2 separate regions of the Homo sapiens genome follow, and region 2 is linked to region 1. Evidence: promoter capture Hi-C in 16 types of primary human blood cells and fetal thymus (Javierre and others, 2016). All regions are on one chromosome and are shown on one strand. Each heading gives the region's core, a stretch centred on a gene start or on the middle of the fragment in contact. The rest is flanking DNA. Distances are from core to core; before and after follow the strand shown.

Region 1 (5,782 bases), core at 1,470-3,969:
GTGCTGGACATGTTAGGCAATTCAATTTTACATGTAGACATTAACAAGTAAATAGTAAAGGATAATATGAAAATGCTATGAGAGGGAAGATGTGTCAGAAATTTGCAGACTAATTTCTTTCACGTTTGATTTATTTATGATAACTATACTGAATCCTTATATTTATACATCACTTAAAAATTACCCATTTTGCTTTTAGTCTTCATTATTTATTAATGAAAATTTAATTTTAACTTTTCTTAAAATGAACATTTTTACATTGCAGATTTTATATAAAAACTTTTTTCATTGAACCTTTAAAAGTCATAACTTCTAATAACAATTACATTAATTGTTAGCCTTAGAGTAGCTTTTTTATGCTGCTTCAACAGGCATAGAACAATAGTAATGGATTGTTTTGGCATTAATATGTCTTCATTGCCTTATTCAGTTGATTCAATCTCTTTTTTTCCTCTCTTATTATCTTAAATTGTACTGTATATTCATGAGCAATTTTCTTCATTTGTGGAAATTAATTGCTAATGTGAGGGAAAGCATTACAGGCTCTGGAGCCTCTGCCACTAATTGGGAGATTATGCAGAAGAAATAAGATTGGAAGTTACTTGAACGTGTAGGAAGTGTTGTGTCCCACAGGAACTGAGAACAACCACTTTAACAAAATAAAAGGACTTACGTATACCTCTATTAGACATCTTCATCACATTCTACAGAACATGGATACTTACAGGCTAAACAGATTATGAGAAATTTTAAAAGATTCAGTTGGTAGAAGGTAAGAGGAAAACTAGGACCATGTTGTAGCACAAAGAATGTTTTCAAAAATATGAGACTAAAAATGTCCTTTTGGGTTAGCAATAAAGAGTTCTTCAGTGGTTTTTCTAAGGGCAGTTTAAGTGTAATGGGGTGGTGGGGGGCAGGGGTGGGATGGAGGGGTGGAAGTCAGAAGTAAGATAAACAGTTTTCCTCAGCATTTGTTCATTCAACAAATATTTAGTACCCACAGAGGAGTGTGAGACTGACTGGGCAACATAGTGAGAACTCGTCTCCACAAAATTTTTTTAAAAAATTAGCCGGGTGTGGTGGCCTGTGCCTGTAGTCCCAGCTACTTAGAAGGCTGAGGCCAGAGGATAGCTTGAGCCCAGGAGTTCCAGGCTGCAGCGAGCTATGATCTCGCCACTGCACTTCAGCCTGGGCGACAGAGCAAGAGCCTGGGAGAATGTGTTTAAATGGTGACGGGAAAGAATGAATAAAAGAAGGAAAGCTTAAAATACATTAAGAGAAAATATATTGATGATGATGGAAGGGAGATGAAATTGGTCAGGGTCCAAAGCCCATGTGGAGGGCTTCACATAAAAAGGAGGAATAGTATTTCTCAGCCGGATGCAGCCAGAGATGGAAGGAGGATAGCATCTAAACCTTCCCTATAGTTTTCCTCAAATGGACAGCTCCTGAGTTCATGCACTTGTCACCCCGGCTTCTGCGTGGGATATAACTACAGGGATGGGGAGGGGAAACAGGAGATGGGCTAATACTGAATGCTTCCTGTTGATTAAAAAGGCACTTCAAACATAGCTGGCTGGGCACAGTGGCTCATGTCTGTAATCCCAGCACTTTGGGAGGCCAAGGTGGGCGGATCACAAGGTCAGGAGTTCGAGACCAGCCTGGCCAAAATGGGAAACCCCGTCTCTACTAAACAAATACAAAAATTAGCCAGGCATGGTGGCCTGCGCCTGTAATCCCAGCTACTAGGGAGGCTGAGGCAGAAGAATTGCTTGAACCCGGGAGGTGGGGGTTGCAGTTAGCCGAGATTGCGCCATTGCACTCCAGCCTGGTGACAGAGCGAGATTCCGTCTCAAAAAAAAAAAAAAAGTTAGCTATATCCTCCTGCAAATATGTATATAAAGAAGATATTTTAGTTCAAATTAGCCTTGGAAATATTCATGTAATTCTTTATTACATTTAGTTTCACACTAGGATGATTTCACTTAAATGATTGAAGGCATATATCTGGAATTAGCAGAGAATTCATGTTTAACAATTTATCATTATAAATGATAAATTATAATATTTATCAATTATAAGTTATAATAAATATTAAATAAACTATAATAAACCTATAAAATAAATTATAATAAATATTAATTATACCACAAAATCATGGCCCTATAAAACAATGACAAGGTTAATCAAATCTGTCTGTAAATAGCAAGACTCAATGGTGGCATTATGCCAATGCCCGAAATTACTATAAAAACTCCCAAATAACATTGTTATCCTTGTAAATGCTTCCTTGTAAAGACTGCAGTAGGTGCCTATTTCTTGGAGGAAGAGAACTGGACATTAAAAGAAAGGCTCTGCCTACAGGAGCTTCGAATCTACCAAAGGGAAGCTCAAATCCCGCCCAGCGGACCCGCCCGCTTCCCCTAAGCTTGCCTCCCGCCACGAAAGCTGGAAAGTCACTGGGGGCGGAGCTAAGGGGAGCTGCGAGAATTCCGGGGGATGTGACCGGACTGGGCGGGGCCTGTACCTTGGCCCTGCGCTCCCGTTGACGTCGCATCCTGTCAGTATTTCGCCAAACCTCCAGGCGCCATCAGTGTGTGAACCGTTACGCAGCTGGTCCACCGCGGGCGGAGAACAAGCGACTATGCCCAGGGATCCTGCACGCATGCGTGGAGCTGAACCGTCAGCGTGCGTGTGACGTCACCTGCGCGCCCGCCTAAACTCTTCCTAGGGTTCTTTCTAGAGTACGGGTGAGTGAAATTTGTAAGGTTTGGTGTGTTCATTTGAGTGGGTGCCAGACGTAACGGGCCCGGGATTGAATTAGTTTAGATCAAAATTTGATGTAATTATCGCAGAGAAACGCTTTCTTACGAGTGTTTATCTCGAGCCTGCTGTGTTCAGCATCTTTCTTGGTGTTTTGGGAGAAGCAGACAGGAGTTAAGTCCAAGTCCCCGCCCTCACAGAGCTCAGGTGGCTTGGGGGAAGGTTGGTGCGCAAACATTAAAATTAGATATCGACACTAGTGAGTGTCCCCGTCAAGAGGTCTGTGAAATAAGGTTGAGCCTACGATGCAGAAGTTAATCTCAGTTCAGTAATTTTTGTTTCTTCATTTATTTAGCGGGTGAAGGGAGGGGGCCACAGAAACATGTTGGAGTACGATGCTTTTGGTGCACAGTTTGTCTATACAATATTACAGCTCCCGTGGGGGTTAAAAAAAAACACGATTTTTCAGCCTCCCTCTTCCCCAATAAATTTTACATTTTAAAGCACAATGTTAAAAGCGTTTGTTAGTGACGTTACAGATCTTAAAACTGGCTTTTTGGAGGTACTTTACGCAGCTAAGTAGAAAATGGTTAAGTTTCAGTTCCTTGGAAGAATGTTTTGTATTGATCTTTGCAATAAAATTGTAAAATAATCCATCCTCCTGTCACCCCCCAACCCCGAACCGTGTTAACTATAATAAGGAAAAGCATAACTAAGTCAAAGAGACTTAAAGCAAATTATTGACTTCATTTTGGGTAAAACACTGGTTTTGTATTTTCAGCAGCAAGTTGTCAGATTCCCTAGTTGAATTTGCTTTGGACATCAGTGTGAAGCAGAACTGATATGCCACTTGAATTAATAAAGGAAGTCAATGGGGTGCCTGAAGTTCAGCCGCTGAGTAAATTACATAAAGTAGATTTCGGATCCCTACAGCCAGGTTACAATTATAGCAAGAAATATATTCAGGTAAGAATTTCTATAACTCAGAATGCTTTTTCCTACTAAAAGGAATGCAGTTTTTAAGTGTTGAGTTTATTTATGAGAACTGGTTTAGGTATGGTTTTTATCTTTGTCATAACATTTGAGATTGAATATTTCAATAAGTTATTCTTATTCAGTACTTATTTAGCGAACAATTATCAAATTCGTGTGTGAAACATTGGAGTAAGTTTCTGAGGTACAAAGATGAATAAATATAGTCCCGGAACTAAAGATAATCACATTTCTGTGGGGTCTGACAGATCAATCACCTGATCTCCAATTAAAATTAATAGGTGTGATATTAGCATTGTGATGTGTGAACATGAGAGAGCTTTTGGTTCTGACAGATCACGAAAGTTGAGCTGGAACTTACGGGATAACAGACTGTGCTGTACCTTCCTTTGAGGTAAAAAGCAGTCCTTATGTGCATGTTGAGGAATTTGGATATTACTCTAAAAGCTATGGGAAGTCTTTAGTAGGTTTTAGCAGGAGAAAGACATGATTTACTTTGAGTTCAAAAAACTTTGCTCCTAGGTAGAGAATATATTGGCGAATGCAAGATTAGAGGAAAGATGTTTAGTTAAGAGGCAATTACAGTAATTTAGGTGAGAGTTGATGATGATCTGGGCCAGTGGCAGAGGGGATGATGGGAAGGATATTGAAAAAAGATAGTAATAATAATAACTAAAGTTAACATTCATTGCATTTTTTTCCATGCGTTAGGTAGTTTTTACGTATATTATTTAATCATCACAAAGACCTATGACATAGGTACTGTTATTAAAGACACTGTGTTTCAGAAAGGTTAAGCAATTTGCCTGAGATCATATTGATGATATGAAGTAGAGCAGGAATTTGAATATAGATGATTTCCTTTAGACCTGACAGGATAAAGAAGCAGAATCAGTAGGTCTTAGAGAACAATTAGACTAGAGTGGCAAAGAGAAATTCAGGAAACTTCTGTTTCTAATTCCTAGCCAACAAGGAGAAGAAAATAGGGGGTACATACTTAGGGAGAAACATGATAAGTTCAATTTTGGTCATATTTGAAAGGTCTTTAGAGGTATATAAATAGTAGTGTGCAGTAGGCAAGTGGATTGGGGAGTTTGAAGCCCAAAGGGACTCTCATTTAGATGGGTTTGAGCCAAAGCATAGAAGAGAAGAGAACCATGTTGAAGGAGTCAGTGAAAGAAAGTAGTATGAATAAGTAGCAGAGATGGTCTAGAGAAGGAGGAAGAAACTCAGGAGTCTTTGATACGTAAGAATGCAAGTTTCAATAACACTTGTATAGATTGTTGTCTAGTAGGCACTCTCCTAAATGCTTTGTATATGTAATCTCTTTGTATATGTTCTCTCCTAAGAACTCTAAGTATTATTCTCATTTTATAGCTGGAAAACAAACACAGGTTAAGTGATTTATTCAAGGTCTAATAGCCAGTAAGTGGCTGAGCAGTGATTTGCATTCCCATTGTCTTTGCTACTAAACAGAGCATTATGTTGCTATTAGATGCTCAAAGGTCTGAAAAGTATCTGTTCATTCTAATAACCAAGAAATTATTGATCACTTGGAAAGATTAGTTTTGCTTAAACACTAAGAGCAAATTCATTTTTCAGTAGTTTGAGGATTGAATGTCAGGTGAAAAAATGAAAGCAGAAAATGTCTTTCAAGAAATGAGTTGTGATACTTTTGATAATTTAAACAAAATTTTTAAAATTTATTTTGTAAATAGGTGTGGGAAACAAGTGCAGTTTTGCTATGTTGATATATAGCACTGTGGTAAAGTAAGGGCCTTCAGTGCATCTGTCACTGGAGCAATGCAGCTTGTACCCACCAAGCAACCTCCCATCATCCACTCCACTCCTAATCCCCTACCCCTCCAAGTTTCCATTGTCCATCTCTGTACACTCTGCTTCTGTGTGTACACATTATTTAGTTCACATTTTTGAGTGAGAACATGCAGTATTTCTCTTTCTGTGTCTCAGTTGTTTCATTTAAGATAATGGTCTCCATTTCTATCCATGTTGCTGCAAAAGACAT
Region 2 (5,782 bases), core at 2,348-4,847, 750 kb before region 1:
AATATTTGTTGTAGGCTTTTGCTAGATTTATCTTATGAAACTGAAGGGAAATTACTATTTCAGGCTTGTATGCAGATTCTTAATTTTTTTTTTTTTAGTTTGTATATTTTTTAAAATCATGAATATGTGTTGGGTTTTATCAAAATTTGTTTTCCTTAGTTATTGGAAAGATTATATGTTTTTCTTCTTTGTTTATTTGAAGTGGCATATTTCTAATGTTAGACAAGACAGGCATTCCTGAAATAAATCTCACTTTGTCATGAAATATAAATGTTTCTACATATGAATAAATTCAATTTACGTTTGCATCTATATTTGTGAAAGATATTGGCTTACTTTGGAGATCGTTTTTTGCTTGTTTTTCTTGCAATGTCCTTTTCAGGTTTTGGTATTAACATTATACTGGACTCATAAAAGAAGTTTAAAAGTGCTCTATTTTTCTTCTATTCTCTATCTTATTTTGTAGGTATTATATATGTTCCTTCAATATTTGTAAAATTTGAATAGTGAAGCTATTTAAGGCTGTATATTTCTTTATGTGACAAATTTTATTACAATTTTGTTGCTTTAATAATCTTGATTTACTTTGAATATGTTAAGATCTGAATTCCTTTCATCAAAAACAACACAGCGTGCTGCATATGACCAGAAAATCTTTATATGTTGTAAAGCTATTTTATTATGCAAAGCTTTGCTTAATACACCTTACTCTATTTTTCTCAATTGTTCTTTTCATGTGGTTCCATAATCCTAAATAAAAGAAATTAACTTGCAGGACATGTGAAGGCATTTAAATTATGCAAGCACCCACAGAAAGGAGAAATTTCTATAATCGAGAGCCTACAAAACATTCTCAATCTATAATGGTATTCTTTAGATTCTAAATAGCAGCATGTAAATAACACAGAATTCCAAAGATTAAGGTTCTTAATTAGGCCTACTGAACACTTAATCCATAGCTAAATGTTTTCTGTTTTTTCTTATTATAACCTGCATATAATGAAAGTTAAAATGCAGCTACACATTTTTGAAAAATGAAAGTTACTGGCTGATGAAATAGTTTCACTACTTCGTCATATTCTTGAGATGGCCTGTGATTTTCTGATCGTCAGAGCAAGTATAATTACAATAACTACAATTTCATGAACTTTTTGCATCATGTAATATACTACATATTAGTAGTCTGTTCTTACTTAATTTCTACAATACTCTTAGGTGTCATTGTCTCAGTTTATATGTGAAGTAACTGAGATTTCAAGGTGTTAAATAATTTTTCCATAGCTACACAGTTTGGGAGATGGAGACAAACTTATAGTCTCAGCTTTCTGCTGCCTTCCTGCTATTTAGGTGGGCACTCATCTCATTCTTTCTACCCCCTAACCATGATCACATTTGTTCTCTGCAAGGAGTGGAAACCAGGCTTCATCTTTACCCACTGGATAGTAAATTTTCAGAAATGAATACATTCCACAGAATAAATCTCACTGGTGCACTTTAAGTATATTCATTACCCTCAAGGAAACTGGTGTTTCTTCAGTTAATATACATTTTTATTAAGCAAAATGCAGCCATGCTATGAAAATTTGATTCTGTGGGTGAAGAGTAGTAACCATGTCAGAGTTATTGTTCTTTCAAGCAGCGATTCATATCACTGTGATGACCTACAGCATTGTAGTACTTCTGCAATTACTTACTCTTTCCATGAGCAAAAAAGTTTTTAAAATAAACTAAAGAGGCTTAACTGGGTAGTAACAGGAGTAAGGATGAGAGCCAATGCATTTTTGAAAGAAAAGATGCTGATTTTTTTTTTATTCTTATTCCTGGGAGAGATATCACAAAATCATTACATGTGATTTTATTCAAGAAGCTCAAAAAACCCCAAGGAGAAAACACAAACCACACCAAGGTATATTATAATAAAATTGCGTAAAACATGAGGAAGAAAAAAAATCTTAAAATTGGCCAGAGAAGAAAGTTTCATACATACAGGGGAAAAAAGATCAGAATTAAAGATGACTTCTAATCTGAAACAATGAAAGTCAGAAGACAGTGAAATGACATCTGCAGGTGCTGAACAAGTTGGTCTTACTAGCTAAGATGTTACTAAGAGGGACACTTTATAATTCATTTTTCTTGCCATTGCCTAGCACAGAAACTTAGGATATTCTTGGTAAATGATTCTTGGATGAATAAATGAATTGCCATGTATGAGTCGAACCCATAGCATCTATCCTCTACACAATGTTCTAACCAAATAAGCTGGTCAGCCCCCAGGCCACTGTCACTAAAATATTGATGTTTGTCCTAAAGTTGCAAGAGTCTTTCCTCATAGTTAAGAATTAAAGATACAAACCTGAAATGGAATAAGTTGTGTAGGAGAAGGCTTGGAGATACAACTGTCTCAATAGATTTTAAAAAATGGTAAAATATTGTTTATTACTTCTGTTTAAATTTTACTTGTTTATTTTTACAAAAGTCTAACAAGGTAATATTATTTGTTGTTTTACTAATAAGGAAACTAAAACAAGTAGGTAACAAAACTTAATGTAAGATGAACAGAAAACACTGTAGAATTTAGACATACTCATCATAGAACATTTGGCAAATGTAGAATAGTCTAAGGAAACAATATTTAAAATACTAAATTCTATCCTCTCAATGTGAGTACCACTATTAATTTTCATCTGTTTTCCTCCAAACATTTTTAAACTCAAATTTAGTTAAATTTATCTATCTGTGAGATAATGCAACTCTAAGATTTATACGTTAATCAGAGTTCAATCCGTTCAAAGGGATGTTTCTAAAATAATAGATTTCCTTTAATTGTATAAAGCAAATGTTAATCTATCTATAATCAAGCACATTATTTAATATTTATTACAATTACACATTCATTACAATAGGTAGTTTTTGAAATAATATGTAGTTCGTAAATGGGAAAATAAATTCAAACCCACATTTTTTTATTACAGATCCTGCAATCATAATTAGTATGCTATTCCTTCTGATAAAATTGTACCTTGAAGATACCAATCATGATTTTTGGAGTAGCAGAAACAAGGCTAAGACTACTAAAGATATAAATGTTAAGGACGGTAAACAAACAAACAAAAACTCAGACTTACGTATTTATTTTTCTCTGTCTGGGGTAGTACTTCTGAGTAAAATTGATACTGTTACCTCTGGAGAATTCAGGAACTTTGTTGTTGTTGTTTCTAACTAGTAATATTGAAATTGTCTGAGGCTGAAAAATTTGATTACTTAACAAAACAGAGGGTAGAAATGTTTATACTGCTCTATTTTTGTCATTGGGAACAACTAGCACCAAATCTGATTAACAGATATAGTTGATTGTGATACGATTATAACCTTTCCAAAGAGAAAGAGACAAATTGTACTTCGGTAGTTTACTTTTTTCTACAATAAGAGAAAAACAATTATCTCTTATATTTTTATAAATGTGGAGGTGGATTGCCTAGAATGATAAATTTGCTCCAATTTAGGAATGCACATAGTGCATTTCCAAAATGATTTCTATTGGTTCGTTTTTGCATACTTTTGAAGTAGATAACTTGTTCTAATTTTGTTGGCATATATTCAAATTCATATGCAGAGTTTCTTTTGCAAAGTCATTCAGAGGATACAGACTGGAACAATGTGCTCAAATGAACAATATTATCTCTGCTTCACAGATGACAGAACTGAAACAGAAAAGCAAAATGACATGTTCAATGCCACAGAAGAGTCACTGGCAAAACGGGATTAGAACTCACTGTCCATAATTTCCAAGACTGAATGTTGGCAGAACTATTCCCATATTTAACTAAAGATTTTTTTAGCTTTGCAAACTCCAAAACAGAAATCTACTTATAATACTGGTATGAAAATAAGACTAAATTTCCATTTAGAAAAAAACATGATAACTAAATTTTCATCACGGTTGAAATATATTTGGATACCGTATGCGATGTATGGTGTACCTAACTTTCAAAGTGAAATGCACAATAAGATACACATACATTTTTTTTTTTTGCATTTTTAAAATTAAAGCAGAATATTATTCATGTCCTATTTAGTGCAAACCAAACCATTTCTAATGTTCAATGTTTTTCATCTAAAAGTGATGATGTCATGTGTTCTACCCATCATGTGAATAGATAGAAACATAATCATGTAAATAGTTTATTTTGTCCTGAAAATAAAGTCTTACATTTGTTACTGCTGCATTAATGTTCAAACCTGATTCCCGAGACACTAACAATTATGATTCCCATTTATGTAACATTTCATAATCTGAGCTTAGATAGTTCAGGGAGAGTTACAAATTCTGTAAATGACTATTGCCCCAAGACAATGGTTTTCAGAATACTTAGAGAACCCTGATTCTAAGGACTCTTAGACATTTGAACCCTTTACACACTCATTATTTCATGGGTGTACAGTAGAGTATTCTAAAGGCTACATCACATTTGATAGCATTATTACTTTGATGGCTAATGTGAGTACTTATGATAGTGCGGACTTTGACCATTTTGGGCTATTGAAACTATCTGGTCACTAGCCTTGCGGCAACTCATTGTGTTCATGTGATCAGAGCCGACGTGGTTTTGGAACCTGTAGAGGCAGAGAAGGCATTCACCTCTGGCAACTTCTTGGTTGTAGTGGCTTCCTAGTTACTTTAATGGGAACAGTGTATACTTTTTTTTTTTCGTCTGAATCCTAACCAATCATCTTTTCAATAATTAGAAAAAATATATTTACATGCTAGAAAGTACTAAAATTCATTAAGATTTATATGCTTCTCTCTAGACATGCTTAATCACAGAAATCTGTATTTTGTATAAAACTTCCCAAACAAGTATAGCAATTGGACAGTTTCTTGACCTATAGTTTAAACAATGGGAAATTCATTGAAGGCATGGAATAGATGCAATATGTGTATTAGAAAGAATTATCTGGTTTTCTACTGTAAATTGATCATGTGATAGAGTACTAGTACATAGAGAAAAAGTAGGAATATGTCAATAATACAGCCAAGATATTATGAAATCATAATAGTGGGCAAATATGAATGATTATAATTCAAAAAGCATTTTATGTGTTCCTCTTTATGTTTTATGTGCACCTCCACAATTATAATATACTTTCCCTGCAGAGATGTATTACAATATAATATTGCACAAGTGCTGTCTTGATCCAGTTTTGAGACCATTGCCAAAAAATCTTCAAGTCTTCTTCCCAGGCTGTTTGCTAAACCTACACCCCAGTGATTTACCTTATCGGGCTCTGCTGCTCCGTTTTACTACATACGTACCCAACTGCCAAAAGCCTGGGAGCCACATATGGAGGAATGGCCCTTCCTTCATTGGGCCCATGGAATTATTTAAAATTCCCAGTCCATAACAAACCCTCTGAACCTTGCTCACTCACTTGACTTGCCTTATATAAGCCTCCTCCTAGGTTTCTAGGTTGCTGCTACCTTTTTTCTGGGTGCAACCCCTATGTAGCCCTACCCCACAGCCGCCTCTCGTGCAGGACTATATAAGTAATAAAGAATTCTGCCTTTCATTTTTCTGGAGTCATTGTTGTTATGTCCTGCCATCATCATAATCTAACAAATCTTGAAACAATAAAATACCTTGTAGATATTTTTTTTTTTCCTGCATCCACACTACTAGAAATGGTAGAAATACAAAAAATTAGCCAGGCATGGTGGTGAGCACCTGTAGTCCCAGCTACTCGGGAGGCTGAGGCAGGAGAATGGCGTGAACCCGGGAGGAGG

What was found. The method cuts DNA at HindIII sites, captures the fragments that hold promoters and counts their contacts. A CHiCAGO score of 5 or more calls a contact.
Region 2: a contact is called between a fragment that was not itself captured here and the fragment with the promoter of POT1 in region 1, in 2 of 17 cell types (megakaryocytes and erythroblasts). The highest score is 10.1, in megakaryocytes.

Annotation. Positions count from the first base shown.
Region 1 is chr7:124,926,762-124,932,543 of GRCh38, reverse strand. It overlaps POT1 (protection of telomeres 1), which reads left to right and starts at 2,719. Exons shown (of 19, transcript NM_015450.3): 1 at 2,719-2,750; 2 at 3,545-3,729. It overlaps POT1-AS1 (POT1 antisense RNA 1), which reads right to left and starts at 2,671. Exons shown (of 8, transcript NR_125719.1): 1 at 2,528-2,671. RefSeq lists enhancers at 2,435-2,729, 2,484-2,783. The HindIII fragment of the contact is 3,988 bases long and covers 2,431-5,782 here.
Region 2 is chr7:125,673,723-125,679,504 of GRCh38, reverse strand. No RefSeq gene overlaps it. Among named protein-coding and RNA genes, the nearest start is that of LINC02830, 520 kb to the right of the region's middle. The HindIII fragment of the contact is 5,812 bases long and covers 692-5,782 here.